Regions from separate parts of the Homo sapiens genome. Here region 1 is linked to region 2. The links are contacts of gene promoters, found by promoter capture Hi-C in human tissues and cell types (Jung and others, 2019). All regions are on one chromosome and are shown on one strand. The core of a region is centred on a gene start or on the middle of the fragment in contact, and the rest is flanking DNA. Distances in the headings are between cores, read along the strand shown. Region 1 overlaps LOC105373024 (a long non-coding RNA gene). Region 2 holds the start of LGALS2 (galectin 2).

Region 1 (5,798 bases), core at 3,120-5,619, 260 kb after region 2:
CTGAAGCCCTGTAAGATCTCCAAGGATGGCCAGGGCCCCCACAGGCACAAATGTGGGTAGGCTAAGGAGGAGAAACAGGGAGGGGGAACTGCATGAATGGAGGCTTGGAGGCCAGGACTGCTTCGGGAAGACTGTATGGGAGATGCAGCTTGAGACAAGGTTGCGGGGGTGAACCAGAGCCATTTCATATAGGGCTTCAAGACTTGAAGACCAGGCTGGGCCTTGACAGAGAGAACCTGGGAAGCATCTGAAAGTTGTTGAGCCAGGGAGGGAGATGATCCCAGCTATATTAATTCCTTCCTTCCTCCGTTGACTCATTTATTAAAAATTTATTGTCTTCTCCGCGGCATGCCTTTGCTGGGACTGGTGATTCAGAAATACTAGTCATAGGCCGGATGCGGTGGCTCACACCTGTAATCCTAGAACTTTGGGAGGCCGAGGTGGGTGGATCACTTGAGGTCAGGAATTCAAGACCAGCCTGGCCAGTATGGTGAAACCCCATCTCTACTAAAAATACAAAAATTGGCCGCGTGTGGTGGTGGGCGCCTGTAATCCTAGCTACTTGGGAGGCTGAGGCAGAAAAATCGCTTGAGGTGGAGGTTGCAGTGAGCCATGATTGTGCCACTGCACTCCAGCATGGGCAACAGAGAGAGACTCTGTCTTAAAAAAAAAAAAAAAGAAAGAAAAAAGAAAAGAAATACTAGTCACAGTTCTGGCCCTCAAGAGGCTCACAGGCTCACCAGGAGAAACTCATGCATATTCATAAAGGTACCAAAGTCCCACTGGTACCGAGATAGGTTTGTATACTGGGGCAGTGGGAGAAGGGGGAGAGACCTGGAATGGCTTCAAAGGCTTTGGTCCTGAACTAAGTCTTGGGGGTCAAGTAGAGGATGCAAAGCCCATTGGACTGGGAATAAAGAAGGTTCCAGGCAGAGAAAACTGAATGGGCAAACATCTGGAGGCTTGATACAACCTGCTGGGCTCAGGGAAGTGCTAGCAGTTTGGGTGTTTGGTGGAGGGGGGTGGCTCAGCACCTGTGCTGCACTGGGGATCCAGGGAGGAGGCAGGTGACCCTGGCTACAGAGTCGGGGATGAAATGAAGGGGGGAGCAGGGAGACCTGGAAGGAGATGATGGAGGCTAGAGTTGAAGGAATGGAGAAAGACTGCAAAATATCCACCCATCCATCCATCCATCTAGAAAATGTTTGCTGAGGCCGGGTGCGGTGGCTCATACCTGTAATCCCAGCACTTTGGGAGGCCGAGGTGGGCAGATCACCTGAGGTTAGGAGTTCGAGACCAGGCTGACCAACATGGTGAAACCCTATCTTTACTAAAAATACAAAATCAGCCGGGCATGGTGGCGCATGCCTGTAATCCCAGCTACTTGGGAGGCTGAGGTAGGAGAATTGCTTGAATCCAGGAGGCAGAGGTTGCAGTAAGCTGAGATTGCGCCATTGCACCCCAGCCTGGGCAACAAGAGTGAAACTCCGTCTCAAAAAAAGAGAAAGAAAATGTTTGCTAAGAACCAGTGTGGGGCAGGGATTGTGCTGGGTGCTGGAGGTGGAACCGGTCAGGCTGGGTCACTGACGGGAGAGGGTGGCTGGAGGCCAGGTTGATAAGCTTGGAGTGAGGACAAGCAGGATGAATGGGGGCAGGGGATGAATATCTTGAGTTCAAAGTGCATCCACCCAGGTAGCCGTGATTCGGGATGGGGAGGCAGCAAGCAGCAGGGGCTTGGCAAAAGTCAAAGGCATTTCTTTTTCTTTCTTTCTTTCTTTTTTTTTTTTTTTTAGACGGAGTCTCACTCTGTTACCCAGGCTGGAGTGCAGTGACACAATCTCAGCTCACTGCAACTTCTGCCTCCTGGGTTAAAGCGATTCTCCTGCCTCAGCCTCCCGAGTAGCTGGGATTACAGGCATGCGCCACCACTCCTGGCTAATTTTGTATTTTTAGTAGAGATGGGGTTTCTCCATGTTGCTCAGGCTGGTCTTGGATTCCTGATCTCAGGGGATCCGTCTGCCTCGGCCTCCCAGAGTGCTGGGATTACAGGCGTGAGCCACTGCACCGGGCCGGTCAAAGGCATTTCTAAGATGGGTGCTGCCAACTGTGCTCAGGGCTTTCCCAGCCTTCACTTCATCCTCACTTAATGGCATTCCCATCTGTCCAGGTGAGAAAACCGAGGCGTAGAGGCTTCATCGTTGCCCCATTATTGCAGGGATGGGCAAAGCTTTTCTGGAAAAGGCTACATAGTAAATATTTTTGACTTTACGAGCCATGCTTCTTGGTCAAAACTATTCAACGGTGCCACCGTAGAGGGAAAGCAGCCATAGACAGTACCAGAAATAAGTGGGTGTGGCTGTATTTTAATTAAAAAAGTGGATGAACATGGAAATTCAAATTTCATATAATTTTCACATGTCAGGAATTTTTTTTTTTATCTTCAGAAATAGAAAAAACCTAGCCGGGTGCAGTGGCTCATGTCTGTAATCCCAGCACTTTGGGAGGCCGAGGAGGGTGGATCACCTGAGGTCAGGAGGTTGAGACCAGCCTGGCCAATATGGTGAAACCCCATCTGTACTGAAAATACAAAAAAATTAGCCGGGTGTGGTGGCCCGTGCCTGTAGTCCCAGCTGCTTGGGAGGCTGAGGCAGGAAACTTGTTTGAACCCAGGAGGGAGGGGCTGCAGTGAGCCGAGATCGCACCACTGCACTCCAGCCTGGGCAACAAGAGCGAAAACTCCATCTAAAAAAAAAAAAAAAAAAAAAAAAAAAAAAAGAAAGAAAGAAAAAGAAAAAGAGAAAAAAAAGAAAAAAAAACATGCTTGGTTTCTGGTTGTACCATAACAGTTTGACAGGATTTGGCCTAGGGGCTGTAGTTTGCCCACCCCTTGGGGGATGGTTGGGAGGTGGCAGAGCTGGGGTTCAAACTAGGTTCTGCGAGCCCACGGGCTTCTGGACCAGATCAGCTCCAAGTGTGTGCCGGACCTCAGCCCCCTGGTCTTTCCCTTTCGGGTTGGTTCTCCCATCTTGGGATGCACAGAGCATCCTGCTTCTACGCTGCCCATTTTGGGCAGGAGGCAGTGTGCCGGGCAGGCCAGGGGATCTGAATCCCCCAACTCGGAAAAGGGTCCCCGCCCAGCCACTTGCCAGCTTGGAAGACTGGAAACCTCTCTAGGCCTCAGTTTCCCCACCTGTAAAGTGGGGCATAGCAGATAACTCACCCGCAGGGTCGCCGTGAGGCTGCAGTGAGAATATACCTTGAAACGTCTCCCCACCCCGCGGCTGCCTCAGTTTCCCTCCTCCCCTCCTTGCCTCTGAGCCTGGTCTACACCTGCGCCGCGGCCTCTCCCACCTCCCCCACCGCCGTCCCCCTCCTTAATGCGGAGAACGACATCCTGGGTGTCTCCCAGCTGCCTCCTGCGCACGGACGGTTTCTCGAAAGCTTTTAAAAACGAGGCTCCCTCCCGGCGGCGGCAGGGAGGGTGGGAAGGGGGGCGCCCACCCTCGGGAGCTTCCCCGGTGGGCGGCGGCGGCCGCTCCCAGCCTTTTCGGGAGATCTCTGGCTGATTATTATGGAAATCAGGCCCCAGCAGCGCGCCCGGGTGGCGCGGGAGCGGGAGGCGCTTGGTGCGGCTGAGACGCGCTGAGGACCCGCTCTGCCAGCCAAAGGAGCGGTGCGGGGGAGGGGGCGTGGGAGCTTCCCGCGCTCCTGGGACACGCGTGGCCTGTTCTGGCCCGGGTGCCCGGGTGACACTGTTCCCGCGCAGGGCCGATGGGCTGAGCTGCAGCCGGAGGGGCTGGGGTCGCGCACGGAAACCTGGGCGCCCAAGTCTGGGAGTTCATTTCCGCCGGGACCTGGGCCCTTGATATCAGCGGTGCTGGATATTTTCAGTGCAATTAAAGGCAAAGGCAGTGGGGTTCACGCCACCACCCCAGGAACAGAACTGGGGCGTGTAATGAGCTCAAGCCCTGTGTACTGGGCGCGTGTACTCGGCGTCCAGCACCGACCTCAGGGCGCTGATCTATTTAAATCCTTCCGTTGACTTGGGCATGGTCAGGCCCATTTTATGGATGAGACAACAGAGACCCAGAGAGGCAAAGCTCACACGGCCAAAGCAGTCGAGGAGAGACCTGAGCTGGGAGTTGTCCAACTCCTCTGGCCAGTTCTTACACCTTCGGTCATCCTGTCTCCAACCTGAGGATGATGCCTTTGACCTTCCAGCCGCGCATCCAGCTCTGGCCTGCCCTGTGCCTCTCTGCGGGGGGACTCTGCAAATGGGGAGAGAGACAGCGTGGCTAATGTCGAGGAGAGCTGAGGGTGGTGGGTTGTCCTGGTGCTGAGGGGCTCTTGGTTTCTGACTATGCCTTCTATCACCACCACAGGGTTTGAGTTGAGCCAGGATCCCCCACCCCCACCACCCCTCAAGGTGCAGGAAATCTCATCATTCAAAATCCATTTCCTTTATATTGTCACATTCTGGAGAAGGGCTCCAATCTAAGCTTAAAAGTGATAGAGAAAATAAAAATGGGAAAGTCAGATGGATTCGGCCACTTTGTAAGCCAGAAAAATGGCCCCAGCAGACAGGTGAGCAACAGCTTTGGAAAAATCTCTAGCAATCAAGAACGGCCATGGGGGTTTATCTTTGCTCTGTAATGATCCCAGGCAGACGGAGAGGAAAGGCAGAGAAACCTGCAGGTGAATGGGCAAAGGGCAGGAGCGATGATTCACACTAGAAAGGAAACACAAATGCTTAACCCTCACAGGGAGAAAGTCCATTCCCACTCAGATATGAAAGGAATACAAATGTTAATCAATGCAGTTCCATTCAAACTCACAAATATTTTAAAACATAAAGTTATTTAATTTACCGCTGAATAACTGTAACTATTTTTAACTGAACTCATGGTTACCCTGGTAGTCCATCCTCCCAACTGCTCCAATTCACAGATAGGAACCTAGGCTAAGAGAGGCTAATTGCATAATTTGCTCCAGGTTAGACCTCTGGTGAGTAGCTGAGCAGGGTCACCTGTTCGGTGGCAAAGTGGTGGCATCTGGCCGGGCGCGGTGGCTCATGCCTGTAATCCCAGCACTTTGGGAGGCTGAGGCAGGTGGATGACCTGAGGTCGGGAGTTCAAGACCAGCCTGACCTATATGGAGAAACCCGGTCTCTACTAAAAATACAAACTTAGCCAGGTGTGGTGGCACACGCCTGTAATCCCAGCTATTCAGGAGGCTGAGGCAGGAGAATCGCTTGAACCCGGGAGCTGGAGTTTGCAGTGAGCCGAGATTGCACCACTGCACTCCAGTCTGGGCAACAGAGCGAGACTCCATCAAAACAAACAAACAAACAAACAACAAAAAAACCCACAAACAAACCACACACACAAAAACGCAAAGGTTAGGCTTCATCCCAGCCCCCGTGGATCAGAAACTCTGGCGCTAGGGACCAGCAATCTGTTTTAAGGAGCTCTCCAGGTGAGCTGGAGGCTACAATTAGAGAATGACTGCTCTGGGCTCCAGGAGAAGGTAAGGAAAGCAGGTACGTGCTTTCGCTGCAGAAGGCAAATTGTATTGTTTCAACCTTTTTGAATTACCTATGGATAACAGGTATTGTGAGCCTGTAAACGGCCACCAATGGCACCTCTGAGAAGCCACTGAGAAGTAGACATGGTTTTATCCATGGAGGTATTTAAGACAATGTATTTATAAACATGGAATACTGGAAACAGTCTGAGTCTCCAGCAATAGGGGACTGGGGAGAGAAACCTTGGTTCATCTAAAAGATGGCTGCTGTGCAG
Region 2 (6,100 bases), core at 1,088-3,587:
TTCTGTTCTTTTTCTTTTTCCTTTGAGACAGGGTCCGTCACTGTCACCCAGGCTGGAGTGCAGTGGCACAATCATGGCTCACTGCAGCCTGGATCTCCAGGGCTCAAGTGATTCTCTTACCTCAGACTCCTGAGTAGCTGGGACTACTGGCATGTGCCACCATGCCTGGCTAATTAAAAAAAATTTTTAGTAGAGATAGGGTCTCACTATGTGGCCCAGGCTGGTCTCGAACTCCTGGACTCAAGCGATCCACCCACCTCAGCTTCCCAAAGTGCTGGGATTACAGGGGTGAGCCACCATGCCCAGCCATTCTTTTTTCTTTTTTTAAATCTTTCATTGGTATAAAATATATACGCAGCAAAGTACGTAAATGATATGCATGGTCATTTTCCCCTGCTTTTGAACATTATTTTAAAACAAGTGAACTTTAAGTTCCTTTTACTGTGTGTACTTTCTGGAACCTCCTATAGTGAGATAATATTATTATTATAATCAGAAAAATGCCACCTTTAAAAGGTATAGTTTCTGTTGATTAGTTTCCAGGGAGAAAGCCTTTTAAAATTCCTTATCTCACTGGGGTTTTACCATGCCTTTGGGAGAAAGGCCGAGAGAGGATTAATTTCCTTGTGGGTGAAAGGAGGAAGTCACTCCTCACTCCGGGCTGGCAGGGGACTGAAGGTGGTGTCCTATGTGGGCACTGGGCAGTGAGCCACCTGCAGACTCCTGGCACCGAGGGCCCTCGGCAAGGCCAGTTCCCCACATCCTGCCCGGAGTGGCCACCGCCAACTCTGATGGAAAACGCTCTGGCTCGCCAAATCCTGAGCTCTAGAAAAGTTCTCCTTCTGGGAATCTGCCCTACATAAGTTGTCACGATGCAGCCAAAGTTTATGTCCAAATAGATTTAATGCAGCAGTATTTTTAATAGCAAAAATGTAGAATTAATGTGAGTGTTCAGCAGAAGGAAATTGGTTAAATAAATTCAGTCGTTGAAAGGTAGACTATTTCGCAGGCATTAAAGTATGGTTCTGAAATATAGATTTGTGGTCTTTAATGTTTCCCAAATGAAGAGAGATAAACAATTGCACAGACAGAGGGGTGTCTATAATGTAAATCTGTGGAGAACCGCCTGGAAGGAAATGTGCCAACAGCGTAAGCCAGTTCCCTCGTGGCGGTGGCATTATGAGTGATTATTTTTCTTTTTATTTAATATCTCTAATTGTCTATAGTAAGCATGCCAGTTACATAAGTAACAGAAGTCAAGAGCAAAGCATTTTCATCCTCCATGTCCCCCACTCAGCCCTCCCACTCCTTCTGCACTTTTATTTATTTTTTATTTTTTTATTTGAGACGGAGCCTCACTCTGTCGCCCAGGCTGGAGTGTAGTGGCGCGATCTTAGCTCCCTGTAACCTCCACCTCCCGGGTTCAAGCGATTCTCCTGCCTCAGCCTCTTGAGCAGCTGTGACTACAGGTGCGACCACGCCCAGCTAATTTTTGTATTTTTAGTAGAGATGGGGTTTCACCATGTTGGCCGGGCTGGTCACAAACTCCTGACTTCAGGTGATCCGCCTGCCTTGGCCTCCCAAAGTGCTGGGATTACAGGCTTAAGCAACCGCGCCCAGCTCTCCTCTGCTTTTGACCATTTGTTGTAAATAGTTTGAAATCTTTTCTTTGAATCCGTGTATTGGTTTTGAAACCTACATGTCCGATCAGATAAATAATATGGGGAGGGAAGAAGAAAACATAATGCTCTCTGACAATGAATCATAACATCATAGAAAATTAGAACCTTAGGCCAGGCGCAATGGCTCACGCCTGTAATCCCAGCACTTTGGGAGGCCAAGGTGGGCAGATCACGAGGTCAGGAGATCGAGACCATCCTGGCTAATACGGTGAAACCTCGTCTCTACTAAAAATACCAAAAAATTAGCCGGGCATGGTGGCGGGTGCCTGTAGTTCCAGCTACTCGGGAGGCTGAGGCAGCAGAATGGTGTGAACCCAGGAGATTGCATTGAGCGGAGATCGTTGCCACTGCACTCCAGCCTGGGTGACAGAGTGAGACTCTGTCTCAAAAAAAAAAAAAAAAGAAAATTAGAAACCTAGACTTTTTTTTTTTTTTGCAAAGCAAATCTCTCTTTTTACAGGCAAGGAAGCTGGGCTAAGTGAGGGAGGCTGGGAGAGCTGTCAAGCGGCTGCATTGCGGTTTGTGTGGGGGCAGAGCTGGGGCTGCTTCCCCTCTCGGGCTCTGGGAGCGCTGAGGAGGGGGAGGCTGGGCTGGAGGGAGGCCAGGAGGATGCTCCGGGCTGGGTGGGGTGGAGCTGGCTGAGGAGTCTTCTGCCTGTTTGTGCTGGGTACTGGGAGATGCAGGCGGGGAGACACAAGGTAGAAGGGGCAAAGTCCTCACCTAGGACCTTGAGGGAGTTAATGTGTAATATTCTAGGATATAAGCTTGACCACGAGTTGAGACCCTGAGCACAGGCCTCCAGGAGCCGCTGGGAGCTGCCGCCAGGAGCTGTCACCATGACGGTGAGGACACTAGCCCCCTGCTGCCTGCCCCACTCTGTTCATCTTTGTCTTTGCCTGGGTGGGGGCTTTTAGGGAAAACCATTGCTGTCCCTCTCTGGGCCTCAGTTTCCCCATCTGTGCAGCAAAGAAGTTGGACAGAGGTCTTTTTTTAAAAAACAGCATCTTGGGCCAGGCGTGGTGGCTCCTGCTTGTAATCCCAGCACTTTGGGAGGCCGAGGCTGGTGGATCATCTGAGGTTGGGAGTTTGAGACCAGCCTGACCAACATGGAGAAACCCCGTCTCTACTAAAAAAATACAAAATTGGCTAGGCCTGGTGGCACATGCCTGTAATCCCAGCTAATGGGGAGGCTGAGGCAGGAGAATCACTTGGACCTGGGAGGCAGAGGTTATGGTGAGCCGAGATTGTGCCATTGCACTCCAGCCTGGGCAACAAGAGTGAGACTCCATCTCAAAACAACAACAACAATACAGCATCTTGCTCTGTCACCAGGTGGAGTGCAGTGGTGGCAATCATAACTCACTACGGACTTGACCTCCTTGGCTTAAATGATCCTCCCACCTCAGCCTCTTGAGTAGCTGGGACCCCAGGCACTCACTACCACACTGGCTAATTTTGTTTGTTTCTTTTCTTTCTCTTTTTTTTTTTTTTTTTGAGATGGAGTCTCGCTCTGTTGCCCAGGCTGGAGTGCAGTGGCCCGATCTCAGCTCACTGCAACCTCTGCTGCCTGGGTTCAAGCAATTCTCTGGTCTCAGCCTCCCAAGTAGCTGGGATTACAGGTATGTGTCACCACACCTGGCTAATTTTTTTTTTTTTGTTGAGATGGAGTTTCTGTTGCCCAGGCTGGAGTGCAATGGCACGATCTCGGCTCACCACAACTTCCACCTCCCAGGTTCAAGCGATTCTCCTGCCTCAGCCTCCTGAGTAGCAGGGATTACAGGCATGGGCCACCACACCCGATTAATTTTGTATTTTTAGTAGAGATGGGGTTTCTCCATGTTGGTCAGGCTGGTCTTGAACTCCTGATCTCAGGTGATCCACCTGCCTTGGCCTCCCAAAGTGCTGGGATTACAGGTGTGAGCCACTGCTCCTGGCCTAATTTTTGTATTTTTAAAGTAGAGACAGGGTTTCACCATGTTGGTCAGGCTGATCTCGAACTCCTGACCTCAGGTGATCCGCCCACCTTGGCCTCCCAAAGTGCTGGGATTACAGGTGTGAGCCACCCCACCCAGCTTATTTCTTATTTTTCGTAGAGATGAGGTCTCACTATGTTGCTCAGGCTGATATCAAACTCCTGGGTTCAAGGGATCCTCCTGCCTTGGCCTCTCGAAGTGCTGAGATTACAGGTGTGAGCCACTGTGCCTGGCCTCCATTGATCTTTATAGAGATAAAAAAAAATCTCAGCTTGGGCAATATAGTGAGACCTTTTCTGCTACAGGTGCATGCCACTACGCTTTGCCTTAAAAAATTAGTGGGGGTAGCGGCACACTCCTCAGCCTTGGGAGGCTGAGGATCACTTGAGCCCAGGAGGTCGAGGCTACAGTGAGCCGTAATTGCACTACTGTACTCCAGCCTGGGCAACAGAGTGAGACCTTGTCTCATATACCCACACACAAAACCCAAGTCTTGGAGAGCAAATTGCCCAAGGCCACAAGCTGCAAATCACAAGGGGTTGAGTGGATTCCCACTGAGGTCTCTGATTCGTTGATTCTACACCAGACTCTGCCACAGCTTTACTGTGTGGCCTTGGCCAAGTCACTGACCGTCTCTGAGCCCCAGTCTTCCTTACATCTGTGGAAGGGGATCACAGGCTGCCTCTTCTGAGGATTAGATGGTGTATTCATTGCCTAGGGCTGCAATAACAAATTACCACCAAATTGTGGGTGGCTTCACACGATAGACGTTTGTTCTGTCTTGGTTTTGGTGACTAGAAACCTGAAACCAAGGTGCTACAGGGCTACGCTCCTGCTGAAGGCGCAAGGGGAGGGTTCTTTCTTGCCTCTTCCAGCTTCTGGTGGCTCCTCGCATTCCTTGGCTTGCATCACTCCAATCTCTGCCTCCAACTTCACGTGGACTCCTCTGTGTGTCTCCGTCTCTGTGTCTATATTTCTCTCCTCTTATGAGAACACTGGTCGTATTGGATTTAGGACCAACCCTAAACCAGTATGACCTCTTAACTCGATTACATATGCAAAGGAACTATTTTTAAATAGGTCACATTGAGGCTGGGCGGGGTGGCTCACCCCTGTAATCCCAGCACTTTGGGAGGCCGAGGCAGGCGGATCACTTGAGATCAGGAGTTCAAGACCAGCCTGGCCAACATGGTGAAACCCTGTCTGTACTGAAAATACAAAAACAAAAAAGAAGAAGAAGAAGAAAAAAAAATTAGACAGATGTTGTGGTGGGCACCCGTAATCCCAGCTACTTGGGAGGCTGAGGCAGGAGAATCGGTTGAACCCGGGAGGCAGAGGTTGCAGTGAGCCGAGATCGAGCCACTGTACTCCAGCCTAGGTGACAGAGTGAGACTTCATCTCAAAAAAAAAAAAAAAGGTCACATTGACAGGTTCCAGGTGGACATGAATTTTCGGGGGACGCTATTCAAGTGCAGGGGGGATGCAGGATGTGAATGTGCCAGGGGTCCTGCGTGGAAGGGTCTATGCCCTCATCACCCTCTGCCTCTCGGGGAGGACTGCTGTGGCCCACGGACTCTCCCCACCTTCTCTTTCCTGGTCATCTCACCTCTGCCTTTTCTTTCCTCTCTCTCCAGCTCCAGAGGCCATATCATCCAAATCCCTTATACGACAGATAAGGGAACCAAGGCCCAGAAAGGGGCTAAGCTGGCCCCAGGCCCCTCTGCCAATTAGGGGCAGAGTCGGCACTAGAGTCTGGGCCCCCAACTCCCCACCCCCCCAGCTCTAGGGACGACCACACCCCCACCCAGTTCTGCCTGTCTCTCTCTGCGCCTTTGACTCTGTTGGGTGGGGACAAGGCTCCCGGGCCTGCACCCTCCCGCAGCTCTCAGCATCCCTATTTGTCCAAGTGCACCCCTGACCCTGGACTTCCGAGTGCTTCTGCCCTGCAGCAGCCCCCACCTCTATCCTTGGGGTTTGAGCTTTGCTGTTTCAGTCAGGCAGCCCCCAGGAGCTGCAAGGGGAGTGTGGGTGCTTCTCTTAGTCCAGGCCCAGCTCCCCTATCCTGGCCTGACTGTTGCAGGGCTCGGGGTGTGGGCACAGGCTGCTGGCAGGAGGCAGGGAGCCATCTCCTGATGCTTGGTGTTAGACGTGTGTGTGCGCAGGGCACACGTCTGTGAGTGTCTGTGTGGCGGGCACACCTGTCTTCTGTTTCTTGTTTGAGCCCCTTTTGGACTGTCCTCACTGGATAACCTCATCTCCCAGAGATAATGGTCTTTGTCAGTGAGAGACTGATTTTTTTTTTTTTTTTTTTTTTTTTGAGACGGAGTCTCGCTCTGTCGCCCAGGCTGGAGTGCAGTGGCGCCATCTTGGCTCACTGCAAGCACCGCCTCCCGGGTTCACGCCATTCTCCTGCCTCAGCCTCCCGAGTAGCTGGGACTACAGGCG

Evidence for each region. Contacts are between HindIII fragments. The study calls those that stand out against the background at their distance.
Region 1: a contact is called between a fragment that was not itself captured here and the fragment with the promoter of LGALS2 in region 2, in 1 of the 25 tissues and cell types used here (spleen).

Annotation. Positions count from the first base shown.
Region 1 is chr22:37,322,731-37,328,528 of GRCh38, reverse strand. The region is part of intron 1 of LOC105373024 (a long non-coding RNA gene); the gene reads left to right. Among named protein-coding and RNA genes, the nearest start is that of CYTH4, 43 kb to the right of the region's middle. RefSeq lists an enhancer at 13-1,212. The HindIII fragment of the contact is 3,069 bases long and covers 2,835-5,798 here.
Region 2 is chr22:37,576,324-37,582,423 of GRCh38, reverse strand. It overlaps LGALS2 (galectin 2), which reads left to right and starts at 2,337. Exons shown (of 4, transcript NM_006498.3): 1 at 2,337-2,524. The coding sequence starts at 2,519. RefSeq lists a silencer at 1,951-2,010. The HindIII fragment of the contact is 22,309 bases long and covers 1-6,100 here.